Regions from separate parts of the Homo sapiens genome. Here all the other regions are linked to region 3. The links are contacts of gene promoters, found by promoter capture Hi-C in blood cells and fetal thymus (Javierre and others, 2016). All regions are on one chromosome and are shown on one strand. The core of a region is centred on a gene start or on the middle of the fragment in contact, and the rest is flanking DNA. Distances in the headings are between cores, read along the strand shown. Region 1 overlaps SDHC (succinate dehydrogenase complex subunit C). Region 2 overlaps SDHC (succinate dehydrogenase complex subunit C). Region 3 holds the start of ADAMTS4 (ADAM metallopeptidase with thrombospondin type 1 motif 4).

Evidence for each region. Contacts are between HindIII fragments. The CHiCAGO score rates a contact against its expected background, and 5 or more counts as called.
Region 1: a fragment that was not itself captured here is called in contact with the fragment with the promoter of ADAMTS4 in region 3 in 8 of 17 cell types (erythroblasts, M2 macrophages, monocytes and 5 more); the score reaches 8.8 in erythroblasts.
Region 2: a fragment that was not itself captured here is called in contact with the fragment with the promoter of ADAMTS4 in region 3 in 10 of 17 cell types (M2 macrophages, monocytes, erythroblasts and 7 more); the score reaches 9.8 in M2 macrophages.

What each region holds. Positions count from the first base shown.
Region 1 is chr1:161,357,975-161,361,369 of GRCh38, forward strand. The region is part of intron 5 of SDHC (succinate dehydrogenase complex subunit C); the gene reads left to right. Among named protein-coding and RNA genes, the nearest start is that of CFAP126, 8.2 kb to the right of the region's middle. The HindIII fragment of the contact is 4,866 bases long and covers 1-3,395 here.
Region 2 is chr1:161,338,534-161,341,998 of GRCh38, forward strand. It overlaps SDHC (succinate dehydrogenase complex subunit C), which reads left to right. Exons shown (of 6, transcript NM_003001.5): 4 at 2,061-2,122. Among named protein-coding and RNA genes, the nearest start is that of SDHC, 26 kb to the left of the region's middle. The HindIII fragment of the contact is 9,839 bases long and covers 1-3,465 here.
Region 3 is chr1:161,197,380-161,200,693 of GRCh38, forward strand. ADAMTS4 (ADAM metallopeptidase with thrombospondin type 1 motif 4) reads right to left here and starts at 1,675. Exons shown (of 9, transcript NM_005099.6): 1 at 616-1,675. The coding sequence starts at 1,248. It also overlaps a transcript of NDUFS2 not described here. RefSeq lists enhancers at 1-414, 2,940-3,314. The HindIII fragment of the contact is 11,321 bases long and covers 1-3,314 here.

The DNA of each region.
Region 1 (3,395 bases), core at 388-2,887, 160 kb after region 3:
AACTTTAATAGAAACTGGGTGCCAAGAATTCCAGGTTTCAATATTGAGGTTAGGAATCTTTTTTTTTTTTTTTTTTTTTTGAGACAGAGTCTTGCTCCATTGCCCAGGCTGGAGTGCAATGGTGCAATCTCAGCTCACTGCAACCTCCACCTCCCAGGTTCAAGTGATTCTCCTGCCTTAGCCTCCCAAGTAGCTGAGATTACAGGTGCCCACAACCACGGCCAGCTAATTTTTTTTTTTTTTTGGTATTTTTAGTAGAGACGGGATTTTGCCATGTTGGCCAGCCTTACAGGTGCCTGCCACCACACCCAGCAAATTTTTTTTTTTTTGTATTTTTTAGTAGAGATGGGGTTTCACCATGTTGGCCAGCCTGGTCTTGAACTCTTGGCTTCCCAAAGTGCTGGGATTACAGGCGCGAGCCACTGCACATGGCAGGAATCATTTAATAGATTGGAAACTGTCCATGTTGCCTCCTATGTGACCTCATCGTCTGCTCAAAACTGGTTTCTAAAATTAGCCAGGTATGGTGGTGTGCGCCTGTGGTCCCAGCTACCCGTAAGGCTGAGGTGGGAGGATCGAATGAGCCTGGGAGGCGGAGGTTGCACTGAGCCGAGATTGTGCCACTGCACTTCAGCCTGGGTGACAGAGTGACCCCATCTAAAAAAAAAATAGGCGGGCACAGTGGTTCACGCCTGTAATCTCAGCATTTTGGGAGGCCGAGGCGGGCGGATAATCTGAGGCCGGGAGTTCGAGACCAGCCTTACCAACATGGAGAAACGCTGTCTCTACTAAAAATACAAAATTAGCCGGGCATGGTGGCACATGCCTGTAATCCCAGCTACTCGGGAGGCTGAGGCAGGAGACTTGCTTGAACCCGGGAGGCAGAGGTTTCAGTGAGCTGAGATCATGCCATTGTACTCCATCCAGCCTGGGCAACAAGAGCGAAATTCCGTCTCAAAAAAAAAAAAAAAAATACAAAAATTAGCTGGGGGTGGTGGCATGTGCCTGTAATCCCAGCTACTTGGGAGGCTGAGGCAGGAGAATCCAGGAGGCAGAGGTTGCAGTGAGCCAAGATCATGCCACTGCACTCTAGCCTGGGTGACAAAAGTGAAACTCAGTCTCAAAAAAAAAAAAAAGAAAAGATTTTATATTTTGTAGTCTCCCTAGTTTTGCTTCCAAGAAGGCAATTAAAATTCAGTTCTTTCTGTATTTTCATTACTTCTGAATCTGAGTCAACTGTCAGATGGATGCTTTTGCCTTAATTTGACTTTTTATTACTTCCAAATCATAGCCTTAGAGACAAGCACTTTCTGGATTTCAGTCTGGTCCAATAGACAGTTTAATGGAATAAAAAAAATGAGAGACTAAATTACTTATTAAATTAAGTGTCTGTATCAACTGTTCCCTGGGGCAGTGTTCAGTTTGATTTAAAATGACTTTTTACTTCCCTGAGGGGGAGGCAGTAGAGAGGGAGGACATTTCCATTAATGACTTCCTATTCCACAGAACAAAGCTCTGTAAAGAAAATCAGCTGATCAGCTTCCTCTGTTCATATTTTGGCTCAGACAGAGACTTGCCCTATATTTGTCTTTGTCTCAATATGGGGGTAAGAGAGGGGAGGTTTTATAAAATTGCAGAACTTAGAGCTTTTCTGCCCTGGTTCTTGCCTGTGATGGTAATCTTTTTGTTGAGGGAAGTGAAGAACCTAAGGGTCCTTAAGTCTGCTTTTATTTTTTCTTCTAGCAAGTACTGGCTGTGAGTGTGGGACAGGATTTTGTGTTTTCTGTGACAGTCTGCAGTTTTTGGCCTCTGAACTTGATAGTTGACTTGCCAGAAGATCTAATGGGGGAGTGAGGAGTGAAAGAGTAGGATGTTATAGGGTCTGTGGCATTCTAGGGAATATCCCTGCCTACTACTGCTACCCAGTAGGACTCACTCTCTATAAAACATTGTCCTTATTTAAGCAAAACAACTCTTTGTGGAATCTGCTTGACTCCTAATCTCCTAGTTAGAAGCAATTTGAGGGTTGAGGTGGAGGCATCTTCTCATCTTGATTTTTTTTTTTTTTTCTGGGCTTCCATCTTTTCTCTGAACTGACTCCTAATTTAGGCAGTTTTACATTCAGACTGTGGGTGTATGTGTGTATGTGTGTGTTAAGGCGCCATGTATGTGGGAAGTGTGGAAAATGAAGACTGCTTTTGCCCCATGGGCTCATTTAGTGACTTATAATATAATATTAATATGTTAATATCCCTAAGACACAAGAGAGTCAAAATTAGTGTTTTGTTAAATGTGGGGCTGGGGGCATGGTAGCTCATGTCTGTAACCCTAGCACTTTGGGAGGCCAAGGCAGGTGAATTGCTTGAGCTCAGGAGTTCAAAACTAGCCTGGGCAACGTGGCAAAACTTCATCTCTACCAAAAATACAAAAAATTAGCTGGGCATGGTGATGGGTGCCTGTAGTCCCAGCTACTTGGGAGGCTGAGGCAGGAGGATTGCTTGAACCTGGGAGGTCAAGGCCTCAGTGAGCTGAGATTGTGCCACTGCACTCCAGCCTAGGTGACAAAGTGAGACCCTGTCTCAAAAAATTAAAAAAAAAAAAGTGGGGGTGGGTGGTGGGGTAGGGGCTGGGTGAGATGGCTCACACCTGTAATCTCAGCACTTTGGGAGGCTGAGGCGGGAGGATTGCTTGAGCCCAGGAGTTCAATACTAGCCTGGGCAAGACATAACAAGAGTCTATCTCTATTTTTTAGTATTAAAAAGAAAAGTGGGTTTTAACTCAATTGGTAGAAAACCAATTTAGTGGCATGCTACCAACAAAAAAAGAAATTTAAATAGAATAGAAAATATAGGCTGGGGCTGGGCGTGGTGGCTCATGCCTGTAATCCCAGCACTTTGGGAGGCTGAGGAGGGTGTATCACTTGAGGTCAAGAGTTTGAGACCATCCTGGCCAACATGGTGAAACCCCATCTCTACTAAAAATACAAAAATTAGCTTGGCATGGTGGCATGCGCCTGTAGTCCCAGCCACTGGCAGGGCTGAGGCAAGAGAATCGCTTGAACCTGGGAGGCTGACGTTGCTGTGAGCCAAGATGGCGCCACTGGAGTGGCTGGGTGCAGAAGTTCACGCCCGTAATGCCAGCTTTTAGGGAAGCAGAGGCAGGAGGATAGCTTGAGTCCAGGAGTTCAAGACCTGCCTGAACAATATAATGAGACCCCGTTCTCCACAAAAAGGAGAAAATATATGTTTTTTAATGAAGTTTATTTATATATAAAATATATAAATATATACTTGTATATATATGGCACCACTTAGTAATGGTAAATATTGTTTTATCAACTTTTGCTATATTATATATACATATCTATTGGGTTCCAGTTTTAAAGGTATTTCTTA
Region 2 (3,465 bases), core at 655-3,154, 140 kb after region 3:
TGGTTGTCCTTCAATGGAAAGTTGATGATTCATAATTTAAAAAGGGGTTTGATGATGAAAAGTATTTCAGAACTACTGTGGATTAAGAAATATATACTAAATCCAGAAGATTGGATATAAAAATTTGGGATAGGTAACTTATTAGGAAATAAGTGGTATGTTCAGTTTGGATATTTTGGGGCATATAATAAGGGAGGATTCAAGGATGACCATGTATTATATGAAACTGTGGATAAATGAAACTCAGGTTTTCTTCCATCAGTGTTATACCTGGAGAAATAGAGGGACCCAGGTTGTATTACAGTGATTGCTTTCTTTCTTTTTCTTTTTTTTGAGATGGAGTCACCCTCTGTCGCCCAGACTGGAGTGCAGTGGCGTGATCTCCATTTACGCCAAACTCCGCCCCCCGGATTCAAGTCATTCTCCTGCCTCAGCCTCCCAAGTAGCTGGGATTACAGGCATGCACCACCACGCCTGGCTAAATTTTTGTATTTTTAGTAGAGATGGGGTTTCACCGTGTTGGCCAGCCTGGTCTCGAACACCTGACCTCATGATCCACCCGCCTCAGCCTCTTAAAGTGCTGGGATTACAGGCGTGAGCCACCGTGCCCGGCCTATAGTGATTACTTTCTAATTGTATCAACTGTATTTATTTATTTAGAGGCATGGTCTCTGTCTCTCTCTCCCCAACCCGGGCTGGAGTACAGTGGCACAGTCATAGCTCACTGCAGTCTGGAGTTCCTGGCCTCAAGCGACCCTCTCACTTCAGTCTCCCAAGTAGCTGGGACCACAGGCCTCTGCCACCACACCCAGCTAATTTTTTTTTTTTTTTTCGTAAAGATGGGGTCTCATTACGTTGCCTAGGTTGACCTTGAACTCCTGAACTCAACGGCCCCCGCCTTGGCCTCCCAAAGTACTAGGATTACAGGTGTGAGCCACCATGCCAGCTCCAACTTTAATGAGTGTCTTTGACCCATGTTTCTCCTTGCGAAAGGAGTTTTGAGTTATAATCATTTTTTTTTTTCTCAGCCCTATCAGTGATGCAGTCTGGTAAAGGTAGGGATCCTTCTCCATAAATCAGTTTTCTTTATTCTTTAATTTATTTTTGTAACCTAATCCTGATACAGGTGTTTTTTTTTTTTTTTTTTTTTTTTTTTTGGAGACAGAGTTTCACTCTTGTTGCCCAGACTGGAGCTGGAGTGCAATGGTGCGATCTTGGCTCACCGCAACCTCCACCTCCTGGGTTCAAGCAATTTTCCTGCCTCAGCCTCCCGAGTAACTGAGATTACAGGCATGTGCCACCACATCCGGCTAATTTTGTATTTTCAGTAGAGACGGGGTTTCTCCATGTTGGTCAGGCTGATTGCGAACTCCTGACCTCAGGTGATCCACCTGCCTTGGCCTCCCAAAGTGCTGGGATTACAGGCGTGAGGCACCGCGCCTGGCCCAGGTTTGTATTTTTAAAGTAAAAAGTGGAAACACGGCTGGGCACAGTGGCTCACACCTGTAATTCCAGTACTTTGGGAGGCCGAGGTGGGCGGATCATGAGATCAGATCAAGACCAGCCTGGCTAAGGTGATGAAACCCCTTTACTAAAAATACAAAAATTAGGCGGACCTGGTGGCAGGCACCTGTAATCCCAGCTACTCAGGAGGCTGAGGCAGGAGAATCTCATGAACCCGGGAGGCAGAGGTTGGAGTGAGCTGAGACTGTGGCATGGGACTCCAGCCTGGGTGACAGAGCAAGACCCTGTTCCGGGGGGGTAAAAAAAAAAGTGAAAAGACAGGAATGCAAAAGCTGGTGATTTTTTGTTTTGTTTTGTTTTGTTTTAAGAAAATATTACCTATTCAGGAGAATTGCTTGGACCCGGGAAGTGGAGGTTGCAGTGAGCTGAGATCATGCCATTGCCAGCCTGGGCAACAGAGCGAGACTCTGTCTCAAAAAAAAAAAAAGAAAAAAAAGTGCCTATTTCAGAATTAGTTTATATTTTTGCCAAGATAGACTCTCTACTATGGTGTCATCTTTTCCTTTTTAAAATTGTCTTTGTGTGTTTCTTTACAGTTGGTCTCTTCCCATGGCGATGTCCATCTGCCACCGTGGCACTGGTATTGCTTTGAGTGCAGGTATGTATATGTGTTTTTACACACACATATGTGCTTCTTTGAAAAACTTGGCTGTTTCATTGGCCCTAGTCTCCGCCTCCTTTGAAACTCAGCACTTGATTTAGAGGGAACAGTAAGTCTCTTAAGTTTATTGTTCATTCATCCCTTTAACAATTAATTATGAGTTTGCACTGTGCTCAGATTCTTTTCTTCTTTTTTTTCTTTTTGAGACAGAGTCTTGCTCTTTTGCCCAGGCTGGAGTGCAGTGGCGCGATCTCGGCTCACTGCAACCTCCGCCTGCTGGGTTCCAGCGATTCTCCTGCCTCAGCCTCCTGAGTAGCTGGGATTACAGGCATGTGCCACCACGCCTGGCTAAATTTTTGTATTTTTAGTAGAGACGGGGTTTCACCATGTTAGCCAGGATGGTCTTGATCTGACCTCATGATCCGCCTGCCTCAGCCTTCCAAAGTGCTGGGATTACAGACATGAGCCACTGTGCCTGGCCCAGATTAGTTTCTTAGCAAATTTTTAAACCATTCCCTAGCACTTCCTGATATCATGTTTATTGAAATTATAGAGAGCAGAGAAATGTAATAGAGATGGGCTGGCTGACTGATCATTGATGAAACACAGTCCAACCTTATTTTTCCAGAAGCTCAGTTTTAGCACCCATTCTTATCACCTAGACATGCTCAGTCCCCCAAAGACTAGCTCACTAACCAGTCTCACAAAATCTTGATTTACAGACCAGAATGTCTATTTATTCATTTATATAATATGAACTGCAGCTACAGAGTGAATTATATACTGGTCTTAGATAATTAGTACATCCTTTTTAGGTAGGAAGGTTTATTATATGGAGTGCAGATTATAATCAGTTTTCTGGGATCTGATGTATCTTTTCACAGTAGGGATATACTTTACAAGAGGGTCAGCTAGATTTAAAAATTATGTCTGGCTGGTGCTGGAGACATAGACATTTTTGCTTTTTTATGTATTTATTTTCTCACAAGAATGTGCATGTAACATATTTTTACTTTTTTAGCTTTCCTTTATTTAGCCTTATAGCATACTTTGCTCTCCTACCCCCACCAAAAACAGAAACAAAAACTAGATTATGTTCCCTGGATACATGCTCTTAAAGCATTCTAGTTTTTCTTTCATAATCATAGTTGTAATTTACTTGTTCATTGTTGTTCTTCCTTACTGGATTGTCTGTTCCCTGAGGGCTTAGACTGCATCTGTCTGTATTTTTAATTATCTAGTAGGGTACCTAGAATGCAGTAGATAATTTAGTAAATATTTGGTGAATACAAAATGAATACCACTCTCTTTTTTGTTAATGTGTTTTATATATTTCTGTC
Region 3 (3,314 bases), core at 425-2,924:
GAGGGAAGGGAAGAAGGGGGAGACCAGGAGTGGGAGGGAGGAAAGGATGGAGCCTCAGGCAGCCTCGCAGTCCGGCCACAGTGTGTGAAGGGGATTGACCAGAAGGAGGTATGGGATACCCTCCCTCTCTTGCCACTCCTGCCCTAGTTTGCAGTTTGCCACAGTGATTTTAAAGGCAGCATCAGAAGCCAGACACCAAGCCCTAGGGCCTCAAACCTGACTCCTATAGCTGGGAGTGGGGGATGAAAATCAAATTTGGAGCAGAGAAAAGAGCCAAGGCCAAGGGGCTGTTAGGAGACCTTTACTGCTGGGGACTGTGTCAGTAGGAGATGCCATGGCCAGGAAGGGGTGGGGTGGGGAGAGGGAGCAGTTATTCCCAGCCCAGAGTCTGTGACCCACCTCTGAGAACCCTCGGTGGGTCTGGCTAGGAGAAGGGTGAAGGGGAGAGGCCTGAGCCTTACCAAGAAAGGAGGCTCATGGAGAAAGGAAAGGCAGGCAGAAGGGAGGGAAGCAGAACGGCCAGAAGTGTAAGTGGGTGGAGAGAGGGTGAATAGGGGTCAGTAGGACAGACATGGCGGGAGGACACCGCAGGACACAGACTCCAGAGATGCCTACCTTGGCTCTTCGGGGTCTGGGGCTGGGGCTTCCAAGAGGAGCCTTGACGTTGCACATGGGACCTTGACCGCTGGCAGGACTCTTCCGGCGTAGGATGTGAGCCCCAGGTCCCCCAGCAGAGTTAGGGGTGCCTCCCTCCAGGGGCTGGAGGTGGAGTTCAGCCCCCCGATATTGTAACACGCCTAACAGGGCTCCCCCATCCCAGTGCAGAGATGCCACCGACTCCGGATCTCCATTGATGGTGCCAGTCAGGTAGGTGCCAGGCTCTGCTCCACCCAGCAGCTCAGGCGCCTGGCCCAGGTACTGCACTGTCAGCCCCTCGACCTGCACACCGGAGTCCTGCTCCAGCTCTAGTAGCAGCGTCTCCCCAAAGGCCTGCAAGCGGCACAACAGCCTGGCAGGGGCGCCCGAGCCAGGCAGGACGCTGCCGTTGAGCTTCTCTGGAAACACGATCTCCTCCTCCCGGGGGAGGGGGCTGGCCAGCCGGGCTGAGGGCAGGAGAGAGGCCAGCAGTAGCAGAAGCAGCCACACCAGCCAGGAGAGCGGCACAATGGGGAGCAGGAGGCAGGGTTGGGCTCCCCACAGCCAGCGCCCTGCCAAGCCCCTCCCGGGATGCGAGCCTGTCTGGGACATGGCACTGGTACTGCAGCTGGGAGGGACTGAGGCCGTCTAGGGCACCAAGTCCTCCACACCCTAGCTTTGGAAAGCTCCTCTCTGTAGCCTGGGGGCTTGGACTCCTGCCAAGGTCAGAGGCAAAGTTTTCAGAAGGGCTGAGGACCGTTAAAGGAAATGGAGAAAACTTAGTCCTTGGGCTTGGGAGAGGTGCCCAGGGGTCTGGCTTCTCCAAACTCTCCTCCTGAGCCCTCCTTTCCTGGATCTTTGTCTCTCCCTGCCTGTGTCTTCTGCAGCTTCTCTGGCCTCTCCCTCTGTAGGACTCTGTCTGGGCCGCTTCTGTGCCTGCCCTGTCTCTGCCTTCTTCCGCTGTGCCTTTGTCTCTGTCTCTTTCCTCCTCTGTCTCTCTCGTGCATATGTGTCTGTGGGTCTCCCTGTGGGTTCTCCCCAGCCTCTCTCCGCGCCAGCTCTTTTAAGCATGGTGAGCCTCTGCGATTGATTGGCTGATCTCTAAGCCACTCAGCTGAGCTCTGTCGGTGGGACTCAGATGGGTGTATCATCGCTTCCCAAAAAAATGGGACTTGCCCAGGGGAGGGGAATCTCTAGCAGCCGAATGGATAATAGGCACTGGGCCAGCTGATGACATAGCCTTTTCCCAAACCCCACAATCAGCCCTCAGCTGTCTCTTTCCCTTTTTGGTGGGACAGAGCCCCAGGAGAGGCAGAGAGTGAGGGAAAGGGCCTGGCCGGCATGCACAGATAGGATCACGGTCCTGGGAGAATTCCTGCTCTTATAGTCTAACCTACCATGGCTTCTCTTTTCTCAAGGCTCCCTCATGCTGCCCTTTGGCCCTAGTGGCTGGTTTCCAGGGCTGAGGGGACTGAGTGAGCTGCCTGAGAAAAGAGGGTAGGGAACAGGTAAGGAGGCATCAAGAGGGAAGAACAAATAAAAGAGGTAGCTTGACATGGCTCAGGATAGAACTGAGCAGCTGGGAAGAGTAAAAAAGGCAGAACATTGGGGGAGGCAAGGAGACAGTGATCAGGGAGTTGACTGCCCAAAGGTAGGATGATCCTGCTTGGAATGAACATAACAGAGGCGGCAGATGACAAGGCAGGAGGGGTTAACGACTTTTCCTTTTATAGAAGGCGGATCCAGGGTGGCACCTCCTCTTTTCTAACGTCCCTTCTCTCCCTCAGGATCCCCCTTCCTGAGTTACCACTACCCACCCCCTCCAAAGCCCAGAACAGCCATTCCGCCTCCATTTCCCCCCAGGGTTCCCCCTCCCCACTTCCTGACTCCCCATTTCCCTGGCCCAGCTCCCAGTAGCTTCCCCCAGGCTTTTGGCCCTGCTCCTACCCACTCCCAACTGCCCTAAACCCTCCCCCAGCCTCAAGTCAGCCAGCCCCCAGCATAGGCAAGACTTGCTCTCAGGAACCCAGATTCACCCAGTATCAATCTGGGAGAATCCCCACCTGGCTCCCACCATCCACCCCACCTTGCTCTGAGAACCCAGTGGTTCCTGGAATATCTAGTCATCTTTTCTTTTTAATTCTCCCTGGGGCAGGGAGAGGGTGGAGACAGCATTGTGCATATAGGGAAATTAGGGTACTGGGAGAAATCCATTGCCTGGGGTGGGGAAAGTGGCTGGGGAGGAAGAGGTGGTGTTAGGGAAAGGAAGCAAATTATTCCTTTGGCTTTGGATAGGAGGGAACTCGGAAAAGAGGTCTTGGGTATGAACTCTCAAGGCAAGGAAGGGTTCAGAAGTAGGGGCAATTTCTGCTCACCCCATCCTCTGGCTGCTTGTTTCCCCAGGAAATCCCCAGGAAGGAGAGTGCAGTCAGCAGTCTCTTTCCTTTCCCAGAAGTGGACCACCTCCTCTTGCCTCTATTCCCCTATTCACTCTGCTTTGTCACCTCCTGTCCCCCGCATATCATATCCGTCAGAATACTTCCTTTCCCCCTCCCTTCCTGCTCAGGTCGGTAATACCTGCCCTGGTGCCTATCACTTCCTGGATCACCCACCCCCTTGTGACTGCCAGACCCACCTCTTGACCCACCACTTGCCTGACCCTGGTTCTAAGCCAACGG